Regions from separate parts of the Homo sapiens genome. Here region 2 is linked to region 1. Evidence: promoter capture Hi-C in 16 types of primary human blood cells and fetal thymus (Javierre and others, 2016). All regions are on one chromosome and are shown on one strand. The core of a region is centred on a gene start or on the middle of the fragment in contact, and the rest is flanking DNA. Distances in the headings are between cores, read along the strand shown. Region 1 holds the start of NT5M (5',3'-nucleotidase, mitochondrial). Region 2 overlaps MPRIP (myosin phosphatase Rho interacting protein).

Evidence for each region. Contacts are between HindIII fragments. The CHiCAGO score rates a contact against its expected background, and 5 or more counts as called.
Region 2: a fragment that was not itself captured here is called in contact with the fragment with the promoter of NT5M in region 1 in 1 of 17 cell types (activated CD4 T cells); the score reaches 5.1 in activated CD4 T cells.

What each region holds. Positions count from the first base shown.
Region 1 is chr17:17,300,733-17,306,668 of GRCh38, reverse strand. It overlaps NT5M (5',3'-nucleotidase, mitochondrial), which reads right to left and starts at 3,296. Exons shown (of 5, transcript NM_020201.4): 1 at 2,852-3,296; 2 at 26-126. The coding sequence starts at 3,118. RefSeq lists silencers at 2,727-2,916, 3,047-3,146, 3,197-3,366 and an enhancer at 5,340-5,915. The HindIII fragment of the contact is 19,177 bases long and covers 1-5,936 here.
Region 2 is chr17:17,117,232-17,123,167 of GRCh38, reverse strand. The region is part of intron 3 of MPRIP (myosin phosphatase Rho interacting protein); the gene reads right to left. Among named protein-coding and RNA genes, the nearest start is that of MPRIP, 78 kb to the right of the region's middle. RefSeq lists an enhancer at 3,413-3,938. The HindIII fragment of the contact is 480 bases long and covers 2,916-3,395 here.

The DNA of each region.
Region 1 (5,936 bases), core at 2,047-4,546:
TGAGTGGCTGGGAGGACAAACTTACTTTTGTAGGCTGGCCATCTCCTTGACAGCTTCCACGGCCCCTGGCAGAGGCTCAAGTTCAAAAAAGAAATTCTTTGACTCCCAAATGCTGATGGCCTTCTCCTGAGAAGTTGAGAAAAGCAAGTTACTTCCAGGGTCCTCAGCACCTTACTGCCCTCATCTTGGGGAGTATGGCCAGGCTATAGGGGGAGTGGTTCTTCATTCCTCTCACTCCCCCAAACACACACCCAAGGACGTACTTCCTGGGGGTAGTGCGGAGAGTATGTGGACTTCGAACCCCTTTCCAGAAAGGACCTGACTTCGTCGGGATCCAGCAGAGACCAGCAAAGGTGTCAGGCCCATGGACTCCTACACCTGCTGGAGCTCTCTGGGACCTGAGGCCAATCATCAGGAACTGCGTGCTTGTTAGGCTGGATTCGAGTGGCCAAAAGCATTGTGGAAACTGAGGCTGGACCAGCTCTTACCATGGTAGTAGAGTCCTTAAACTTGAGAACTGGAGGGACTCAGAGATCTTTAAGGTGCCATGAGGGACAAGGGGGAGGGGGAGACAGGGTAAAAGGACAATTCAGGGAGCTCGAGGATCCTCCCCACATTAACCAGAAGAGCTCTGCTTTTATCGGTTTTATATGTTGAGGTGCCAATAAGTACATTTTTAAAAAAAGGATTCTGCTGCTTTTAGAGTTGCAAAGCAAAAATGCAGACCCTCATTTTACATGTCAGAAAACTGAGGCTCAGAACGGGGAAGAGATCCACCTGATGTCACACAGCAAAACAGCAGCTGAGCTGGGAGAAGAACCCCCAACACCAACCCTCTCCTCCCCACTCCCCAACCCCCGCTGCCTTTCTCCTTCCCCTGTTCTGCTGCAGGGCCAGAATGCAGCACCTTTTCTAGGGTCAGGCAAGGGGAAAGTGACAACCAGAGGGGAGACACATCTCAGCCTATGAGCAGGAGCCTAAATCCCACGTGTGCAGTACAGGAAGTGCCTCTACCAGCTGTTCTGCACACTACAGAAAGACAGCCACCCTGTCACATGGACGGCCGGAGGATGCCCTGACAGCATACCAGCAACACTCTCAGGAACCACAGGGACTAGGCAAATGCGTGCTTATTACTGAAACACATTTGATCCTCACATCCCACATAGGGTACTGTGAAGACCAAAGGGAATACAGACAGAGCAGAATTTTGAAAAGTAGAAATGCCTACATACACATAAGGAGCCACGTGTGTGGGGGCGGGGGGGGGGGGGCGGTTGTTTTAACCACAGATACTGGGCCAGCTTGGGGTAGGCCCAGGGATGTCCACAGCAGCAAGCCGTGCCTCAGGAAGGGAAGTAGTGGAAGCCAGCAGATTACTCCCAAGGCACCCTCCTTACTGCCCCGTGCCTTTGCCTTGTGCTTGGAAACCAGTAACCCCACACGTACAGAGCCTACATATTTGCACAAAGAACTGGAAAAGCTGCTGCACTTTTCGGAGTTGGGGGTGGGCTTGGTTTCCACGTTAATACACTCCCGGGCGGATATATGGTGTCCAGACTCCCCATGCCGAGCGCTGCCTATAAATGAACACTCGCCACACACTGGAGCCTATTCCTGAGGCTGCAGAAAGTACCAGGGCATTTTCTCCAGTTTAAAGTTTATCATTAGGCATCCGCTGTAGAAGAGCTCAGCACACTGGGCTCTGTGAAAGTCACCTTCTGAAGTGCCTGGTGTTGATGGAGACAAACGGTACTTGGTTTCCTTTTTTAACACCTGTCCCTCAACAAACCACATTACTGATGAGGCATCTTTCTGATGTCAGAAGAAATGTCACTTGTTAGAGACAGTAGTACAGAGAACAGGACTGTGGAGTGGGGAGCACTAACTGTGCTTGGGAGGCAGACAGACTTGGGTTTGAGTCCTGACTGAGCCCCTGAGCAGCATGTGACTTGGGGCAAGTTTCCTCATCTGGAAAACAGAGATAATAATATCTACCCAACAAAAGAGAGGATGCAGTGAACTTGTGGCTAAAAAACGGGCTCTTGTAACTTCCTTCTCCTCTTTATCAAACCCTCCAGCAGCAACCCTAGGTGGCCAATCAAGGGATGCCAAAAAACACTCAGCCTCTTTAATTTTGTGCATACCAAAATCCCCTGTTCCTTTTGCAAAATACTTCAAATTTACCAACCAAGATCTGTGTGTAAACGTCCCTCCTTGGATCTTTCCCCTCTATCCATCCTGGACAGAACACCTCGGGAGTCGGATGGTAGGGGTTGAGCTCAGGTGTTCAGCAAGGCCAGCTCTGCAAGGGGATAAGACATGAGGTGGATCCCACCTCACCTGGACCACTGACTCACTGTGTGACCCCCAGAAAGTCACACAACCTCTCTGGGCCTCAAATACCCCTGGAAGCTATGCTTTCATGGACAACAGTAAAAAAGATGGGTAAAGACACCCATCAAAGTCCTGGGGACAAAGAAGTGGGAATGTGACTGCGGTCGGGGTGAAAGAGGACAACTTATAACGTTTATTTTTCTAAAAATTTAACAAACGACTTGAGGCCAAATATGCCACAAATTTTGAAGTCAGCTTTAAATGCAGAGTTAGGTATATTAACACTTTGTACTCTCCCGCATTTTCAGAAACCTTGGATGGCAGCCAACAGATCCTGAGCGCGGGGCCGCATCTTCCCGGTGCGCTGTGGCCCCTAGTCCCCCCCAGACCCTATTCTATCAGAGGGCCACCCCGAGGCTGGGGCGCTGACCGTCCAAGGTCACCGGCGCAGGGGCGGTGTCTGGGGCTCGGGGCGAGAAGGAGGCCCGGCGCGGGGCGGGGCGGGGACGCTCACGCTCAGCCCTGGCCGCAGGCGGCCGTACTGCTCCGACACCCAGAAGCCGCGCCGGTCCTCCAGCGCGATGAAGGGCTGGTCGGGAAAGCGCGCGCGGAACTTCCTGAGGAATCCGCCCTCGAAGTCAGCCAGCACGCCGTCCATGTCCACCAGCACCCGTAGGGCGCGGCCTCCCGCCAGGCCCAGCCCGCCCGCCGCCCCGCGCCGCCCCGCGGGAACCGCCGCGCTGCAGAGCCGCCGCGCACACCAGCCGCCCAGCCGGATCATGGCCCAGCGCGCTGGCCCGTCGTGGGCGCGGGGACCTGGGCCGCGCCGTGCTGCCGGAGCCGGCCAGACATTCCCGCCGCGGAGGAGAAGCCCCCAACGCTGGGGCGCGCGTGGAGCGCGGGACGGGGAGCGGGGCGGGGAGCGCGGGGTGCGGGCGCGCAAGTACCGGCCCCAGAGCGAGGCCGCGGCGCGCGCGGTCCCTAAAGGAACACGCGCCGGCGGAGGCGGAGCCCCGGGGCGGGGCTTCGAGGACGGACAGCGGTAAGCGCCGCGCGCCTCCAGAAGGTCCGCGCTCCCGCGCTGTCGATTTGCGTCTTCTCCGTGGACCCTGGGCCCGGGCTGCCTTCTCCCACTGCACAGACTACCATGGAGGAGCAGTGCAAACCGAGAAGCAGGCCTGTGTCGTTAGACATTTTTGAGCACTAACTGTGTCGAGTGTGAACCAAATAGACAAAGTTCCTGCCATCCTGGAACTTACGTTTTAGAAGGGGATCCAGACAACAGGATGGAGGAACAAAAACAGGGTGCACTCTGAAAGCCTCTCTGCTTTATTTACAGCAAATGTCTGCGGAGAGACTGATAGAACCAATATCTGCTAACATCATACAGCCTTAGTAAAACTGATGATTCTCAGGTAAATATATGAATAAATATTAAGTACCCCTGTATTGCTTTTTTTTTTTTTTTTTTTTGGAGACGGGGTCTTGCTCTGTTACCCAGGGTGGAAGCAGTGGCATGATCTCGGTTCCCTGCAGCCTTGAGTTTCTGGGCCCAAGGGATCGTCCTGCTTCTGCCTCCTGAGTAGCTGGGACCACAGGGGCCTGCCACCACACCCTGGTAATTTTTTTTTTTTTTTTTTTTTTTTTGAGACAGGAGTCTTCCTATGTTGGGCTCAAACGATCCTCCCACCTCAGCCTCCCAAAGTGCTGGGATTACAGGCGTGAGCCACCGCGCCCGGCCTCTTTTCAACTTTTAAGTACAGGGATACATGTGCAGATTTGTTATATAAATTGACTGTCTTGGGGGTTTAGTGTACAGATTATTATTACCCAGGTAATAAGCGTAGTTCCTGATAGGTAGTTTTTCCATCCTCACCCTCCTCCCACTCTCCACCCTCAAGTAGGTCACCGTGTCTGTTGTCCCCATCATTACGTCCATGTTTACTTAATGTTTAGTTCCCGCTTTTAAGTGAGAGCATGAGGTATTTAATTTTCTGTTCCTGTGTTTGCTTAGGATAATTGTCTCCAGCTCCATCCATATGGCTGCAAAAGACATGATCTTATTCTTTTTTTATGACTGTGAAGTATTCTATGGTATATATGTACCACATTCTCTCCCTTTTTTTTTTTTTTTTCTTGATAGGGAGTCTTGCTCTTGTTGCCCAGGCTGGAGTGCAGTGGCAGGATCTCGGCTCACTGCAACCTCCACCTCCCAGGTTCAAGCGATTCCCCTGCCTCAGCCTCCCAAGTGGCTGGGATTACAGGCGCCCACCACCACACCCAGCTTTTTTGCATTTTTAGTAGAGACAGGGTTTCACTATGTTAGCCAGGCTGATCTCCAACTCCTGACCTTGTGATCTGCCCGCCTCGGCCTCCCAAAGTGCCGGGGTTACAGGTGTGAGCCACCGCACCCGGCCGATTTTTGTATTTTTAGTAGAGACAGGGTTTCACCATGTTGGCCAGGCTGGCCTCAAACTCCTGACCTCAGGTGATCCGCCCCACCCCCCTCGGCCTCCCAAAGTGCTGGGATTAAAGGCGTGAGCCACTGCACCCAGCCTGTGTTACAGCTCTTTTAGCCCCACCATTTGGCAGGTCCCGAGTTCTTGTCCTGCATCCAGGAAGAATGGGGTAGGCAGACAAGTGGAGAGTGAGCAAGACGAAGAGGAGCTTTATTGAGCAACAGAATACTTCAGAAGAGACCTGCAGTGGGCAGCTCCTCTCCATAGCCAGGGTTTCCCCACAAGTGTTCAGCTTTCAGCAGAGAGGGTAGCTCCTCTCTGGTAGGCAGTTCATCCCAACAAGTGTCCAGCTCTCAGCAGAAAGGGTAGTTCCTCTCTGCAGCTGGTTTTCTCCCCATCTACCCGTCCTCTCTTTGAGTCTGGCTGAGTCCAGGGTTTTTTATGGACCTCAGAGGGGAAGAAGTGAGTGCTGATTGGTCCATGGGCGGCCATAGGTGGCCATGAGCAGGCCTGGGGAAAAGCACCACAAGTTCCCCGCTCTGGTACTGGGACTGGTGACCTGGCCCCCAGGCTTCAGGCCCTTCCAGGATTGAAGGTGGGGCTTCACCAGGGACCCGCCCCCTTCCACCGAGGAGCTGTCTGCATTCCTGCTGCTGTTCATGGCGCCCAGGCTGTTCATGCCAAGGGGTACCTGCAGGCCAACACCAGGCTGTCCTCATGCCCCCCTCGGCCGTTCTCCGATGCTTGTTGGCACCCAAGTCCGGAGGGGGCCAAGGAGGCAGGGGGCTGGCGTGTCAGTGCTGCCCTGAGCGTGTGCACTCCCGGCTGGGCTGTGACGGCGCCCTAGCTCGGCCCGACTTTGCTCCGAGATTGAAGCAGGCACCAACAGCAGGGAGAAGCCAGGCAGCAGGAGCAGGCACTTCCGAGCCTGCGAGGGGCAGTGGAGCCTTCACAGGTTCCCAAGAGCACAGAGATGCTGGGCCAGAGCCGCAGCAGGGCAACTGCAGCGGCATCTGGGGAACTCCCGCCCCGCCAACTCAGAAGGGGCGGGGCTCCTGCTGTGCCTTCTATATTGGGTTGCCGTTGCAGTTTTTTAAAAACTCCATCCATCAGGCCGCGCACGGTGGCTCACGCCTGTAA
Region 2 (5,936 bases), core at 1,906-4,405, 180 kb after region 1:
GTGGATGCATCTCTTCTGGATACCTTGCATAAATGGAAAAATCTGGCTTCCATTTAGCATATTTTCAAGGATTTAGCATATTTTCAAGGTTCCTCCGCATTGCAGCATGTGTCAGTCTTTCAATACTTTTTACAGCTGAATAACGTTCCATTGTGCGGCTATACCGCATTTTGTTTATCCATTCATCTGTTGATGGACATTTGGACTGTTTCCATTTTTTGGCTACTGTGTATAGTGCTGCTGTGCACATTCCTGTACAGTGCTCCTGTGCTCTCATTTCTCTTGGGTGTGTACCTAGGAGCAGAAGTGCTGGGTCATATGGAAACTATATGTTTAACTCTGAGGAGCTGCCAGACTATTTCCCAAAGTGGCTGTGCCATCTCACATTCCCACTAGCACTGCGTGAGGGTTTGGGACTAACTTTTTAAATTGTATTTATGTACTGCTTCTAACCAGCACTCTTGGAAGACAGGTCCAGGTACGTACTGAGGACCTGCTATAAAATAGCTCCCTTTGGCCAGGCGCAGTGGCTCATGCCTGTAATCCCAGCACTTTGGGAGGCCAAGACGGGCGGATCACGAGGTCAGGAGATCGAGATCATCCTGGCTAACACGGTGAAACCCTGTCTCTACTAAAAATACAAAAAATTAGCTGGGCGTGGTGGCAGTCGTCTATAGTCCCAGCTACTCGGGAGGCTGAGGCAGGAGAATGGCGTGAACCCGGGAGGCGGAGCTTGCAGTGAGCCGAGATTGCGCCACTGCACTCCAGCCTGGGTGATGGAGCGAGATTCCATCTCAAAAACAAAACAAAACAAAACAAATAAACAAAAAAACAACAAAATGAAAACAAAAAACAGCTCCCTTCGATTGTGGAGAGAAAGGAACACTTATACACTGTTGGTGGGAGTGTAAATTAGTTCAGCCATTGTGGAAGACAGTGTGGCAATTCCTCAAAGACCTAAAGATAGAAATACCATTTGATGCAGCAATCTCATTACTGGGTATATACCCAAAGGAATATAAGTCATTCTATTATAAAGACACATGCATATGTATGTTCACTGTAGCACTATTCACAATAGCAAAGACACGGAATGCCCATCAATGATACAGACCAGAGAAAGAAAATGTGATATATATACACCATGGAATATTATGTAGTCATAAAAAAGAATGAGATAATACCCTTTGCAGGGACATGGATGGAGCTGGAGGCCACTATCTTTAGCAAACGAACACAGGAACAGAAAACCACACAGCACATGCTCTCACTTGTAAGTGGGAGCTAAATGATGAGAACATATAGACACATGGAGAGAAACAACACACACTGGGGCCTTTCAGAGTGGGGAGGGTGGGAAGAGGGAGAAGATCAGGAAAAGTAACTAATGGGCATTAGGCTTAATATCTGGGTGATGAAATAACCTGTACAACAAACTTCCATGACACAACTTTACCTATGTGACAAACCTGCACTTGCACCCCTGAACTTAAAAAAAGAAAAAGAAAAAGAAAATAGCTCCCTCCAAGTCTCAGTAGTGCAGTGTTCCCCCTTCCCCTGCTGCCGATGGGGAAGCAGCAACAACAGCACCAGCACAGGCGCAGGGCACAATGGTGCTCATGTTTGCGCCCATGCCCTTGAATACCACGCACTGCTGCAAACTCTTCCCGTGTCCTCTCACTGAACATTCCGAACACACTATGAGGCAGGCACTACTGTCACTCTCATCCCGCAGACAAGGAAGCAGACTGCTAAGAAGCTAGGTGCAGTCATGCACCGCACAACGATGTTAGTCAACAGCTCCCTCTATGTTTTGCTAGGTTTGGATACATCAATACTTGCCACTGTGTTATAACTGCTTGTGATATTGCAGTATATGCTGTACAGGTTTATGGCTTCGCAGCAATAGGCTCTACCACAAAGCCTAGGTGTGCAATAAGCTGTACTGTCTAACTTTGTGTAAGTGCACTCTAGAATATTTACACAAGGACCAAACTGCCTGAGAAAACACATTTCTCAGGATGTGTGCCTGTCATTAAACAACGCAGAACTGTAATTTTGATTTAAGGTCACAATGCTAGGAAGTAGCCATGTCAGGATTCAAACCCAGGCACTCTGGTTCCAGAGCTGGTCCCCCTGCTGCTCTGCACTCAGCAGCATTTCCAGACTGAACAGACTCAACCAATGGCTCCAGGGAGCCCCTCAGCCAGCACCTCTCCCCTCCCCTGCCTCTGCCTAGGGGGCAGGATACAACCATCTGTGTCTGGGTAGGCCTGAATCTTGTGCTGCGAGAGTAAGGGCAAATATCTAGGCTGTAACCCAAATCCAGCCAGAAGGAACGCCTCAGCTCTAACGCTGTCAGCAAAGCAACTCTGATGAGCTTCCTGCCCTAATTCTATACCTCCAGAGGTCAGGAATCCAGGTTTCCTAGGAGGCTGAGCTTCACCTAGTTTTGTTTGATTCATTTTCCAAAAAAAGAGACGGCCCTCTGTAGGCCATCGACTCTGCTATGTCACCAAGTTATGGGTTCAGCCCCCACATAGCCCTCCAGCTATCTGGAGCCTCTGGTCCTCTTCTGGGCTCCACCCTACCCCAGCTAAGGGGCAGAGTTGCTACAGGCTGCAGATTGTTTAGGCAGGAGGACACAGGACTCAGGCTTCTCTCCAAAGAGATGAGCACACCCTGCTCCTCCTGCCGGTCCTCTGTCCACAGGCCCATGGGAGGCTGGAAGCTCTGTGCACTGCAGCCAGGGCATCTTGTCAGAGGCCAGAGTGACCTTCCTGGGTTAGGATAATACTGCTATAGCAGCCTCTCCAACCGGGGACTCTCCACCACACCCCTGGCCCAAGCAGAAGCACTTTTGGGAAAACAGGCCTTTGTTTCTTGTTGACCCCATGAGTGTGGGAAGGCAAGCTTCTAAGAGCCAGAGGGAAACAAGAGGAAAGTAAGCAGAAATATGGTGAGAGGCTGTTTGGCGTTATCATCAGGAGGACCTTCCTTCCAGGCAGCTGCTGTTACAGAACCAGTCGCACGTGAGACCTGGGTGGGAGTCTTCCCTTTATCCCCCAATCCCTCATTCAGACCAGAAAACAGAGACCCAAGAAACAAAGGCTTTCCCCTAGGGCAAAGAATTACTCCCAAAATCTCAAGGTCAGAAAGGGGATTTCAAGGTGAAACCTGACTTCCCCCCACACCTGAGGTCCTGAGACAGCATGTTTCACAAACTCATCCAACCAAGGCCCACATGGAACACCACATTCACACCATGATGAGCACACACACAAGTGCACACATGCACATGAAATGGAAAACGGTGAGTCAGTATTTCTACCATGTGCACTGTATTTATTATTTTTTCATATGCACTGTGACCCACTTAAGGAGTATGAAAAGCTTTGTCTGCAAACTTTGGGGCTGAGCGGTCGCCTTGCTCATCTGCACTCTGGCAGGGACAGGCAGCTCGGCACGTTCTAGGGAGGACACAGGGAATTGCCTTGCAGTAGAAGCAGGAAGTGTATTCACCACTTCCTGGGTGCTCACTGTGGCCAGGCCCTGAGTAGCTACAGGTACTGATGACAGCTTCAGGAGGCAGGCACATCATTGTTCTGACTTTCAAATGTACAAGCTGGGGCTCCAAGTGATTATGGGACGTGGCACTCTGTGGGCCACCCAGAACAAGTGTGGTCCTCTCTGACTGGCACCCTTGCCCCTCTCTCCTTGGCATCTTTCCTCCCTGGACTTAACAATTGTTTGCACAAGGTCATGCCTAAGTTTATCAGAGAAACTGTAGGCAGGGCTACCCAGCCTGGACCACGTGGAGACTTGCCCAGCACGGCCCCTGCCTTCAGCCTGGCACTTCACTGAGCTATGGCCTGATTAGGCAGCGCCCAGGCAGGAACACCACCTCCCTCCTCCCTTGGGCTGGTGGGCTGTGCTGCAGACATGGTCTGGCTGCTCGAGCCAGGTCTAAGGAGAGGTCCTTCCTTTCTTTGGAATTCAGGACATTGGCTCCAGAGTTTTCTCAGGAAGGAACACAGCCCTTGGGGAGCACCAGCTGAGTTCCTAGGCGCCCCTGGAACCCACATCCTGGGAGGCACAACACAGGAGCAGGGCTCATGGGGGCTGTGTGGCTGGCTCAGGTCAAAGGTGGTCTCCCGGCTCTTCTTGCTGCAGCCAAACTGCTTCTAGGAGCCCGATCTAACAAATCACAAGCCCCTCTCTTTTGAGGAGGTGCTGGTGACTACCCCAAAGGCCATCAAGTGTAGAAAGGGCACTTAACTCTTGGCCCAAAGTCCCTCTGGGGCTGCAGACCTCCCCAGGGAGCAGCACTCTCCACAGACAGATATCCCCAAAGCCCAAGTCCTCTGAGGAAACTGGAAAGAGCCGCAGAAAAGGGGTCATGATCCCATGCAGGCCCAGAGTAAGCAAAGCCTCTGCCTGGCCTCTGTGCCACAACTCAGAGAAGTGTTAGGCCAACCACGCCTAGGGACTGACAATGGGCCTAGCAGGTACCCACCAGGCAGAACTCCCTTCCCCCTTCCCAGTCGTCACCGCCAGTCCTGGTGTACTCCACAGTCCTCATGGTTCAAAGGGCAGTTCCACAATCATCCTCCACACTGTAGCCTCCTGAAGCTGCATGGAACAGCCCCTAGGCTGGGCTGAGCCCTCATCCCAATGCCTGTCCTCAGGTGTCAGGTCTGATTCCAGGTCCTATCACCTCCTTGGGAAGGGAGCCATGATTCTGCACTCTTCCCCACCCTTCAGGTGTCCCACATGAAACCTGCATGCTACAACCTGGCAGACCCCAGAGAGGGTCCTGCAACCCCAGAGGGACTTTGGGCCAAGAGTTGGATGCCCATTCTACACCCGATGGCTTTTGGGGTGGTCCCCAGCACATCCTCAAAAGAGAGGCTTGTGATTTGTTAGATCAGGCTCCTAGAAGTAGTTTGGCTGCAGAAAGAAGGGCCGGGAGACCACCCCATGACCTGGGCTAGCCACACAGCCCCCGTGAGACTCCCAGGACCTTAGGCAGCTTTGGCCAGCCAGGGCTACCTAGGCTGGACCTACAGCACAGGCCAGGGAGACCAGCTCATGGGGCTTCCATCAGCCCAGGACAGGAGGAAGAGCTGGAGCCACAAACCACTGCTCTCCCAGCTGTTTCCCTCTGCAGAAGTTCTGAGATCTAAGGTAGACTCTAAGCAATCTGTTTTCAGAGCTCTCTAGCCAAGAAGAGCCTACCCTTGGAGTCAAGTCCTAGCTCTGCACTCACTAGCTCTGTGATTCTGGGCAAGTCGCAAATTGTGAGCCTCAGTTTCCCTAATGTAAAATGGTAGTAAATATAGGCCTCGTTTTGATTGTAAAGTGGTGTAGCTATTGTGGAAAACTTTAGCAGTTCCTCAAAAAATTACAGACAGTTTCCATATGACCCAACAAGTTGATTACTGGATATATACCCAAAAGAACAGAAGACAGGTACTCGAACATATACACAAATCATATCGTAGCAGCATAATTCGCGATAGCCAAAAGGTGGAAACAGCCCAAATGTCCATCAGTGGACAAATGGATAGACAAAATGCAATATTCATACAATGGAATATTATTTTATTCAGCCATAAAAAGAATGAAATCCTGACACATGCTCCAACATGAGCAAACCTTGGAAACATCACGCTAAGTGAATGAAGCCAGTCACAAAAGGACACACACTGTGTGACTCCATCTTGGTGAAATGTTCAGAAAAGGCCAACCCATAGAGAAAAAGCAGAGGAGTGGTTGCCAGGGGCTAGGGGAGGGGAATGAGAAGTGGCCTAATGTTTTGGCCTAGAGATTTCCCTTTGGGGTGATAATCTACCCCCTTCTGTCACAAGACTACAAACGATACTGCACAGCTGAAGCGGGACTCGAGCTCAGGCTCGGGATGGCACACCCGTGCC